Regions from separate parts of the Homo sapiens genome. Here regions 1, 2 and 3 are each linked to region 4. The links are contacts of gene promoters, found by promoter capture Hi-C in blood cells and fetal thymus (Javierre and others, 2016). All regions are on one chromosome and are shown on one strand. The core of a region is centred on a gene start or on the middle of the fragment in contact, and the rest is flanking DNA. Distances in the headings are between cores, read along the strand shown.

Evidence for each region. Contacts are between HindIII fragments. The CHiCAGO score rates a contact against its expected background, and 5 or more counts as called.
Region 1: a fragment that was not itself captured here is called in contact with the fragment with the promoter of SOCS1 in region 4 in 1 of 17 cell types (non-activated CD4 T cells); the score reaches 5.2 in non-activated CD4 T cells.
Region 2: a contact is called between a fragment that was not itself captured here and the fragment with the promoter of SOCS1 in region 4, in 1 of 17 cell types (activated CD4 T cells). The highest score is 5.2, in activated CD4 T cells.
Region 3: a fragment that was not itself captured here is called in contact with the fragment with the promoter of SOCS1 in region 4 in 1 of 17 cell types (fetal thymus); the score reaches 5.6 in fetal thymus.

What each region holds. Positions count from the first base shown.
Region 1 is chr16:11,037,263-11,039,962 of GRCh38, forward strand. It overlaps CLEC16A (C-type lectin domain containing 16A), which reads left to right. Exons shown (of 24, transcript NM_015226.3): 14 at 2,492-2,614. Among named protein-coding and RNA genes, the nearest start is that of CLEC16A, 94 kb to the left of the region's middle. The HindIII fragment of the contact is 589 bases long and covers 1,130-1,718 here.
Region 2 is chr16:11,012,564-11,015,263 of GRCh38, forward strand. The region is part of intron 11 of CLEC16A (C-type lectin domain containing 16A); the gene reads left to right. Among named protein-coding and RNA genes, the nearest start is that of CLEC16A, 69 kb to the left of the region's middle. The HindIII fragment of the contact is 3,806 bases long and covers 1-2,700 here.
Region 3 is chr16:11,089,335-11,092,034 of GRCh38, forward strand. All of the region lies in intron 19 of CLEC16A (C-type lectin domain containing 16A), which reads left to right. Among named protein-coding and RNA genes, the nearest start is that of CLEC16A, 150 kb to the left of the region's middle. RefSeq lists an enhancer at 2,078-2,167. The HindIII fragment of the contact is 2,081 bases long and covers 302-2,382 here.
Region 4 is chr16:11,254,843-11,257,542 of GRCh38, forward strand. SOCS1 (suppressor of cytokine signaling 1) reads right to left here and starts at 1,362. Exons shown (of 2, transcript NM_003745.2): 1 at 1,237-1,362; 2 at 1-686. The coding sequence starts at 636. The coding sequence ends at 1. All of the region lies in intron 1 of LOC105371082 (a long non-coding RNA gene), which reads left to right. RefSeq lists silencers at 8-97, 508-657, 668-717, 818-1,557, 1,808-2,007. The HindIII fragment of the contact is 18,048 bases long and covers 1-2,700 here.

The sequences.
Region 1 (2,700 bases), core at 174-2,673, 220 kb before region 4:
GCCACCCTTTCCCATTTGGACCCCACCCACCTTCGGGATCACCTGAAAGTGGTTTGAGCTGTGTCTCTGACTTGCTCTGTGACCTTGGGGAAACAACATAACAACTCTGGGCCTTAACTTCCTCATGAAAGGAAAAGGCTGGACTTGGAACCTGGTACAGAGAGAAGTGTTTCTATCCTCTGGGACCTTCCCTTCACGGAGAGTTGAGAAAAGTCGAGATCATCTTGGGACGCTTTTCTTCCTGTCAAGAAAAGAGCTTGCCCCAGATTTCCTCACTGTCCACAAATTCTAAGGAGACGGAGGGGCAATGATAGGAAAGAAACAAAATGGACCTCTCTCTGGAAATTCAAGGCCTGGTCCTAGTTTGCCTCTTTCCATGGTTCTGTGGCCACTGCCCCATTCTAGAAGGAGCGAGCAGCCAGGCCCTTTCTGCTATCCTCTCTGAAGCGGAGTGACTGCTGATGGGTTATAAAGTTGGGCAATGCACCTGGGACACAGAGGAGCTTTTATTCCCCACCCCCACCCCCACCCCCACCCCCAGAACCACTGACTGGCAGTTCTCAAAGGGCCAGAAATTAACGAGTAGAGAGATGTTAGGACAGTGTTAACATCTCTGGAAAAAACAAATGCCAGAAAGATTCAGTTGACATTCTTCTTGCCATTCAATAAGCCAGAATCCTTCAGAGTTACACATTTAGCATTAACATGGGATACAGAAGCCACAAATTAAATTTTCACTGCAATGAAATTTTTTGAGGAAACCCACATTTGTGGGGCGTTTTGGGGCATGAGAGAGACTACTACCCTACTCAAGTCTTTAGGCCGTCCCTCACCCAGGTCATCTCCTTGGTATGACTTAGCCTCTTTCTGGGAGCTGGAAGGAATTCAGAAAAGCAAGATATATTGTTACTTCTTATTACATCAATGTGCATGTGCAGGAGTTACTTAGAATCCAGACAATCATCTCTTCAATGCTATCTTCCACTATTTTGTCAAGGTTCTAAATGAAGCGTCATCTGGTACTCAAGGGACCGTATTTTAAGAGTTCCGAGAAGTGCCACCTTTCCCCCTTTTGTAGAGTAACAGGAAAAGACGTGGTACAAGCGCAAATAATCCATTCAGTTCTCCAAGCTTGGATCAAGCAAAATATTTGTTTCTGTAAGTGTATTTTTGAAGAGCCACGTCAGTTGAGCAGATAAGGAGTTTGAAGACCTCTTACTCCAGGCAGGAACTGTTCTAGTAGCCCTAACAGGTCTTCTGTCACTGCAGGTCCTGTGTGCTTCTTTAGGAGAAATGACAACAGGGCTCAAAGTCACACACTTGCCTGTTCTTCTTTCCTTTCCCACTTACCTTCCCCACCCCCATCTAATATTTTATCTTTCAAATGCTGTTAGTTTTGGCAGGAAGAATTGTTGAATTTTCACTGGAGGAAAAATGATTCCCTTGCCTCTTAATGATAGATCTCTGCTGTATTGGTGTCATTGTATTAGGTTGGCACAAAAGTAATTGCGGTGTTCCAATTGCTTTTAATGGCAAAAACTGCAATTACTTTTGTGCCAACCTAATATGTGCACCTTTCTGTAAGAAAGGCTTAGCTTAGTGTCTTTCTGCTAATGTCACCCTCAGGGGCAGGCGTGGCCTCTGCCTCACCTGGCTCACAACTTGATTCCTCCTACATGTGTTGAGGGTGGGGCTCAGCTTTTGAGTTTGTCATTAAAAGCTTGAGGGCACAATTGTTGGGGATGACTGTATTTCCTTCGTGTCTAGTCTCTCTTTCTCTAGGCCTGGATTTCCTCAAGCGTAGAAGGTGCGTAATACGGGAGTGGCCTCAGGTGGCCCTCAGACCTGGCACACAGTGGCAGTGAGTTGTGCTATGGGATGGTGTCCCCTTTTTCTACTCCCTTCCCTGTGTCTAGGAGAATGCCACCATTTGGGGCTAGCTTCTCTCCAACACTATTAAGTACCTGCCAACCTCCCTTTTTAACAAAGATCAGGTCTTGGGCCACCATGAGTAGGCAGTCAAAAGTCATTGGCTAGCATGCAAAAACATTTTTTGATTTTTAAAATATTATTACTGGCAATTATTGCATCAATCCTGATTTCCTATTTATAAGAAATAGAAAATGTATGTTTTAATACATTTATGTAAGTTCAGTTTATGGAGAGCTCTGCGATAAGTTATGGCACCAACAGCAACCAGTCATGACAGCAGTTGCCAAGAGGGGACAGGCGCAGTGGCTCACAACAGTAATCCCAGCAATTTGGGAGGCCCAGCACTTGGGGAAGCCCAGGAGTTCAAGTCCAGCCTGGGAAACATGACAAAATCCTGTCTCTATTAAAAACTAAAAAAAAGAAAAGAAAAAGGAAAAGAAATCACCAAGAGGGAACATATGTGGCTGAAGTTGAGGAAACCCCACTCTACAGGACCTTTCGGTATGAGGAGGTCAGGTAGTCAGGAGGCCTCCACTTACATCCTTCTCCTCTGTTCCAGGCATGGATCCTGAAAAATTAGAGCGAATCCAGCTCCCCGTGCCAAATGCGGCCGAGAAGACCACCTACAACCACCCGCTAGCTGAAAGACTCATCAGGATCATGAACAACGCTGCCCAGCCAGGTGCCCACTTGGGGTGTTGTCTGTCCACAGGGCCACGCAGTTGTAGGAAGCAGACCCCACTGGGAGCCTGAGCCCTGGGTGCTAGG
Region 2 (2,700 bases), core at 37-2,536, 240 kb before region 4:
CAGCCTGGGCGATAGAGTGAGACTCCGTCTCAAAAAAAAAAAAAAAAAAAAAAAAAAAGAAAGATTTATGAAAACATGTAAGATAATTACTTACCCGATTTTTGGTGAATTAATGAATGAACAGCAGTCATGGTGGTGGTGGGTTAAATCAAGGAATAAATGTTTGCAAAGTGAAAAATCATAAGGAGCACCTCCTTCCTGCACGAGGTTCAAAACCAATCACAAATCTGGTAGGCTTGTTGAATGCTTTCATACCACATCATTTATTGTCATGCATTTGTATTATCGTCTACTTTATGAATTGTTATTTGACAATCATTTGTATTCATTTATTTTCCAACTCGCATATTTCCAGTTTAGGATCTTGTATGACCAGTGCCTGGGTACTTCAGGACGCCAGGTGGGAGCCAACTCTGGACAGGGCACCATCCTGTCACAGGACAAACTCACACGCCCCCACACTCACTCAGACTGCGCCTGTGTGGACATGCCAGGGAACTTAACATGTACATCTCTGGGATGAGGGAGGAAACCAGAATATGTGGCAAAAACCCATGCAGACATGGCGAGAACATGCAGACTCCACATAGACGGTGGCCGGGACTGGGAATCAGTTTTTTTCTTTTTATCCTCATCCATGTTATAATGCAACAATGTTGAATGAAATGATGTTATTCAAAGATCTGCTGTATTGTGTTTATAAGCTACTTGGATTAATCTGAGCATCCTTCCTTTCCCCATTCAGAGTGGATTTGGTATTCATTTAAAATAAATTTGGATTCAGGCTAGGCATGGTGGCTCACACCTGTAATCCCACCACTTTGGGAGGCTGAGATGGGCGGATCATTTGAAATCAGGAGTTTGAGACCAGCCTGGCCAACATGGTGAAACCCCATCTCTGCTAAAAATACAAAAATGAGGCCAGGTGTGCTGGCTCACACCTGTAATCCCAGAACTTTGGGAGGCCAAGGCAGGCAGATCATTTGAGGTCAGGAGTTCGAGACCAACCTGACCAACATGGTGGAGCCCTGAAAATACAAAAAAATTAGCCAGGCATGGTGATGTGTACCTATAGTCCCAGCTATTCGGGGAGGCTGAGGCTGGAGAATCCCGTTAGACTGGGAGGCAGAGGTTGCAGTGAGCCAAGATCACGCCACCGCACTCCAGCCTAGGCGATGGAGTGAGACTCTGTCTCAAAAATAAATAAATAAATAAAAATACAAAAATGAGCCGGGCATGGTGGCGTACACCTGTAATCCTAGCTACTCGGGAGGCTGAGGCAGGAGAATTGCTTGAACTTGGGAGGCAGAAGTTGTAGTGAGCTGAGATCATGCCACTGCACTCCAGCCTGGGCAACAGAGTGAGACTCTGTCTCAAAAAAAAGAAGAAGAAGAAGAAGAAGAAATTTGGATTCTTTTTTAAAATTTCCAGTTTAGGCTTCTTCTTTCTCATTCTCATTGATTTAATTTTCATTTTAAAAATGCATGGAATATTAGCAAACTGAAGTATCCTTCCTCCCTTCCACTTAATTCCTGTCATCTCTTATAGATAACCAACTTGATTGTGTACTGAAGAAGTCTCCTTCCTGTGTTTCTTTCTGTAAAAATAAGCAGATTTGTGTATGTTTTCTTCTTTTCCTTTCTTACATACAGGGTAGCATATGTGTTCCTTCCACTTAGCAATGTCTCCGGAAATTACTCCATATCATTTCTCAGATCTTCTTCATTCCTTTTCACAGCTGTGCTGTGTGTATGTACCATAGTTGATTCCATCGGTCTGTTATGCCTGGGCATTTAGGTAGTTTCCAGTATTTTGCAATTACAAAGAATACTACAGTAAATATCCTTGTGCATGTGCAGTTGCATACTTCCAGAGGTGTGTCTTGCGGAGAAAGACCTACAAGTGGGCTGCTAGGTTGTAGAGTATAACGGTGATTTAAACTTTCCTTTTAAGCTGTATTTAAGTGAAAAAAAAGTAATAGTTCAAATAAAATGAAAAATAGTACAGGTAACACAGAGACGTGACAGAAATCATAAAAGCAAGCAAATTAAACTATTGCTTCAGTCCCTTCAAACTCCAAATAGTATCATAACTGAGGTTCAGTCAGAGCCCCCTGGAAATCCAGCCTCAGTGCCTCAGTCCCGGCCTTGGGGACCATAGGTGGAACTCTGTATCCACATAGCCTACTGAGCTGCTTTCCTTGGTGGCAGCAGTGTGGCGCCCGCACCTTGGGAGGGAGGCTGGCCAGTGACAACAGGGACAATTGGAGTTGGGGCCCGGAGTGGCACAGAACCGTGCCAACTTCAGGTGTAGCACTATGAGGAGGTTCCCTGTGACCCTGATCATCAGGGGAGGTCAAGTCCTCTTTGATGTCCTCTTCTAAAGATGATACTCACTTTAGAGCAGTGAGAATCTGGGGAGCCCTTTCCCCCAAAAACCTGCTACCAACTGGTCCCATGCCCACATAGCACTTTGCATAGAGCTTCAGGGAATTGGCAGACCTATAAGGGTTGTTTCAGTACCTATAAGGGTTGTTTGGATAAAACTATCAAAAAGAAGAGCAAGAAACCTTTCCTTGACATTTGAAGATCTGATCCGCATTCATCTAGAAAATTAAGTGGAGCCACTCACTCTACAGCTGTGCTAGCTGGATGAGGACTGTGAGGTGCAGCTGTGCGCACAGGTGTCACAGCCAGGGTG
Region 3 (2,700 bases), core at 92-2,591, 170 kb before region 4:
TGCATTAAATGGAAGCACCCGAGGGACCATCCCTTGTGCATCACCCTTGTTGATATGCATTGGCTGTGTCCAATTGTCCATGTTACAGAACGCTGAGGGGTCAGCCTTTTAGCAACTCAGTTCACAAACACAGCACTTTGTCAGGAGGCAGTCCTAGCTGTGAAATTGCTCAAATTGCCCTCCATAAAAGAAGCTGCCCATCAAACCTCCTGCCAACAGCGCAGGGAAATGCCTGTTCCTCCCCTCTGTCCCACACTGGCCCCTGTTGGTCTTTGTCATCTGTGCCAGCATGACGAGCAGAAGCTTACCCATCTGCTGAGCATGTCCACCTGGTCGCCTGGTCACCTGGTCAGAAGTGGCTATGGGAATTCTTCCCATATATCCCAGGTGGCCAGGGAAGGGCCCGACTCAGGAAATGGCATCTGTAAGAATGATAGGGCAGCCTACTGAGGGGTGCTGGGCATGACTCGCAGCATGGGCTGGCCCACCCAGCCACCGCCAGGCACCGGTCCAAACCAGTCAACCCTGTGCTCTGCTCCGTTTTTTCCATCCCTGCCTTTGCTCATCAATGAGGTGCCAGAAAAGGCTTCCAGCGGTTGGAATTCCTGCCTCCTTCATGTGTGTTTGGAGGCCACACAGCTGTGTTCTCTCAAACCTCCACCATCCTTTACACTCAGAATATCTGTTTAGACATTCCTAACTCTGCTTGGTCGTTGTTTATTTTAAAATAGTCCCAGAAATACGCTTGCTTATTTAGTTCTCCACCAAACACTCCATTGCGTAGAATCATGCGTCCCCTGCATTCTGGTTCCCTGGAAGAACCGCAGAAGGGGGACCTGCCTCATACGACCAGGCTGCGTCAGTCATGGGAGTGAGCTGTCAGACATTCACTTTTTTAAAAAATAGAAACAGGGACTCGCTATGTTGCCCAGTCTGGTCTCGAACTCTGGACCTCAAGTGTGGTCAGAATTTCACTTTGAAATTCTTGGGTTGAAGAAGAGCTTAAGAATGGGCTGTTACTTTCCTGTGTTTGTGGATTCATGGAATGATTCTTAGGGGCCATTGTCAGGAAAGGGACCATGGACAACCCAGCTGGAGTTCTTCCATACCAGATGTCCTCAGGCAGCGGAGTGATGTTGATGGCTGTCTGCAGCATTGCCGGGGAGCCTGTGTGTGAAGCCTTCACAGTGGACCACTTTCCTATTACATTTCTCCGCAACTCCCCGCTTACCTAACATCCTGCCTGGAGGTCCAGAGAATCTACAGTCCAGTGTTTTAGGAGGCTCTCTGGATTTTTGTTTCTATTTTATTTTATTTAGTTAGTTTTTGAGAGAGAGTCTCGCTCTGTTGTTCAGGCTGGAGTGCAGTGGTGTGATCTTGGCTCACTGCAACCTCTCCCTCCCTGGTTCAAGTGATTCTCCTGCCTCAGCCTCCCAAGTAGCTGGGATTACAGGCATGCGCTACCATACCCAGCTAATTTTTTTTTTTTTTTTTTTTTTTTTTTGGTATTTTTAGTAGAGAGAGGGTTTCTTGCCTTGTTGGCCAGGCTCGTCTTGAACTCCTGACCTCAAGTAATCCACCCACCTCAGCCTCCCAAAGTGCTGGGATTACAGGCATGAGCCACGGTGCCCAGCCTATTTTAATTTTTTGAGATGAGGTCTCACTACGTTGCCCAGGCTAGTCTTAAACTTCTGGGCTCAAGCACCCCGCCCACCTTGGCCTCCCAAGGTGTTGGGATTACAGGCGTGAGCCACCAAGCCTAGCCAGGATTTTGCCTTTAAAGCGCCTAATCTCCTTTCTCCATAAAGACGTGAGGTAAGCAGTTTTCCCTCCTGTGTTTATATCTCCCCCAACTCACACCATGAGCTGCTTCTATTAAAAGACACAGGAGATGGATAACTGGTGTTGAAAATGATATCACTTATTTCAAAGGGTAAAAGGGAAGTTGTGTGTGGCTTTCAGTAAAAGCTCACAGGCCTATTCAGTATCGGCCACTTGATGAAGAAGCCTTACTTTGTGGTGGATGCCCCCGGGTCTGGCCCCAGTGGCGCCTGAGAGGCAGCAGGTAGAGGCAAGAGCATGCTCTGAAGGCTGTGATTCACCTCGTAGGGCGGGTGGGGCTGTGTGCCCTGGCAGCCTTCTGCACCTACTGAGTCTCAGGCCTCCCCCACCTCTGCAGGGCTGTCCTGAGGGGCTGGCACTGCACAGGGAAGGGCGCTGGCTCGGAGATGGGTAGAGTTAGTGGGTAAATGGGTACTCCGCAGAGTCTGACCGCCAGCATTCAAGCTACCTCTGCTGCTTGCCAACCAGGTGACCTCAGCACATGGCTTAACCTGAGCCTCAGGTTTCCTTCATCTGAAAAATGAGGAAAATTGTCAGGAAAGCTTTGAGCACGATGCCTGAAACACAGCAGGCCTCTGATAGGTGTAAGCTCAAGTTCCATGACTCAGGCTGCAGATGATCTGCTAGGCTTTCTGGTAACCCACGGGTAGCTGAACTTGATGCCTGAGCTCCCCCTCGTAAGTTACCCCACTTTTCTTTGCAGGAAAGGTGTGCTTAAGTAACAGGTACTCAGCAGGGGTGTTCTGACACCCTGGGACTGCCATGGGTTTGCTTCCTCAGAAGGCTTCCCCGTCGGCTGCCCTCTCTCACTGTAGGGTCTGCTTGGACTCAGTGTGCAGAAGCCCTCCATTATCGACA
Region 4 (2,700 bases), core at 112-2,611:
TCAAATCTGGAAGGGGAAGGAGCTCAGGTAGTCGCGGAGGACGGGGTTGAGGGGGATGCGAGCCAGGTTCTCGCGGCCCACGGTGGCCACGATGCGCTGGCGGCACAGCTCCTGCAGCGGCCGCACGCGGCGCTGGCGCAGCGGGGCCCCCAGCATGCGGCGCGGCGCCGCCACGTAGTGCTCCAGCAGCTCGAAGAGGCAGTCGAAGCTCTCGCGGCTGCCATCCAGGTGAAAGCGGCCGGCCTGAAAGTGCACGCGGATGCTCGTGGGTCCCGAGGCCATCTTCACGCTAAGGGCGAAAAAGCAGTTCCGCTGGCGGCTGTCGCGCACCAGGAAGGTGCCCACGGGCTCGGCGCGCAGCCGCTCGTGCGCCCCGTGCACGCTCAGGGGCCCCCAGTAGAATCCGCAGGCGTCCAGGAGCGCGCTGGCGCGCGTGATGCGCCGGTAATCGGCGTGCGAACGGAATGTGCGGAAGTGCGTGTCGCCGGGGGCCGGGGCCGGGACCGCGGGGCACGGCCGCGGGCGCGCGGGGGCCGCGGGCGAGGAGGAGGAAGAGGAGGAAGGTTCTGGCCGCCGTCGGGGCTCTGCTGCTGTGGAGACTGCATTGTCGGCTGCCACCTGGTTGTGTGCTACCATCCTACAGAAGGGGCCAGCCGGAGGGGTGGGCCATAGCGTCCGGGGGTGCGCTGCGGGAGAGACAAAGAGGTGAGCTGGGGCGCTGCGGGGCCGGGCAGGTGTGCGCCGGCCGGACAACTCCGGAGGGCGGCGCTCCCGGCGGACCCGGCCCTAGGGGGCGAGCACGGAGCACCAAGTCCGCGCGGATCCGTTCAGCCTCAGTGGACACAGCTAGAAAATGGGCTCTGTACTCCGCGGAGCTCTTCCCGGCGGGTGGGGGCTCGGTGGAGGCGGAGTCCGGCCTCCGGGCAGCACCGAGAGGGGGGCGTGGAGAGCAGCCGGTTCTGGCTCCAGCCGTCCGGCCCCGGCTCGCCGCCCCGCGCCCGCCGCCTGCTGGCCAGGCTGGGATCCGCGCCTGGTCTGGGCGATTTGGGCTAGGGCCGGAGAAAGGCTGTGCTGCGGGAGCCCCGCGCGCGGGGGGCGGCCTGGGTGGGGCCGGCGAGGGTCAGGGGCATCGCGGCCGCGACCCCATTCTGCAGCCCCCGAGGCTCGCCCGACTCCTGGCTGCCCTGGACTCCCCTCCCTCCTCCCTCCCGCCTCCTCGCCCAGGGCCCGGCTCACCTGGCGGCGGGGCGCGGGACGCCGCGGGCGGGACGGCGGGGGGCTCCGGGGCGCTCCGGGGCGGCTCTCGCGCATGCTCCGGGGCCAGGAGCCGTGCAGCTGCCACGGCCGCAGCTCGCTCTGTTCGGCGCCCGCCCCTGCGCCAGTCTTTTAAACCGGCTCGGAGGCGGGGCTGGCGACGGCGGGAGGCCCCGCCCCCTGCCGGCCCCGCCCCCAGCTCCACTTTTGGTTTCTCTTTCCGCGGTGGCGTCCGGCGAGGACCGCTTCGGCCCTGTTTCCCTCTCTTCTGGACCCTCCCGCGGGGCCCTCTGCCCGCCTGTTCGCACCTGCCCCAGCACCCGCCTCTCGAGGGGCTCTGGCCCCGACCCTGCGCCTTCCGGCCACTTCTCGGACCCCTCCTTCGGACTTGGCGACCCCGATTTTGCCCCGCTACCTCGGGTTCCACTTTCTGCCGCCAGGCCCTCTTGGGACGCGCCCTGACACACCCTCCTCCGCCCCAGCTGTCTCCACACCCGCCGGGGGCAGAGCCCTGTCCTCTCCTCCCCTGCAGCCAGATCCCCCTAGGAGGCCACAGAAGGTGTCCCCAACCCTGAGCCTGACCCCACCCGTAGACCCCCTCCTAGCCCCTGCTCCACCCGCCGTCGACGCCCTCAGTCGCCCGCCCTGCTGTCCCGAAGCCCCGGCCGGCCGCGGTCTCTGGTCTTGGCTCGGGCTTCCCGGGAAGCGGCGGCCTGACCACAGGCTTCAGAGGAACCCCTGGCGGCGCGGGCGCCTCCACCCCGGCCCAGTTCCTCGGAAACTGGGCGGGGCCGGGCAAGGTCCCTGGTGGCCTCGACTGCCCTCCCTGCGCTCCCACTACCCGGCTGCGGAAGAAACTGAGGCTGGGGAGGGGCTGGGATTTGCAATGGCTTGCAGATTGGGAGCTCTGGACCTGGATCTCGCCTTCCCCGTCTTCATTTTGGGGAGAGGTGCAGCTGGACGACATCAAATTGGAGCCCAGTGAAAAAATGGTGCATTCTCAGACGTGATGAATCCCCAAACCTGGTTTCCTAGCCCTCCTCTCCCCCGACCCCTTCCTCATAGATTTCCCCCTCCTACTGCTCCGTCAGGCATCTGCCCTTCAAAGACTGCCTTCCCACCACACACACGGCCGGGGCTTGGGATGGTGGGCGGTCGGTGGTCGGGGCTGTAATTTGCACACGTGTTTGTGATTTAGTGATTCCGATTGTCGTGCGAGGCCATGGAGTAGGTGCCTGGCTGCTCCGTGTATTTTTGAATGAAGGCATGTGAGGAGCCCCAGCATCACAAGGGGCCACATAAAAACCTGGCTAGGCTGGGCACTTGGTTACTGGCCTCACACTGGGACACACTGCCCTCTACAGACAGCTCTCAGACGGCTTCTCTCCTGGAAGCCCTGGTGCCCAGTCCCTTCCCGCCTCCCTGGCCCCACGATACCTCTTTCCC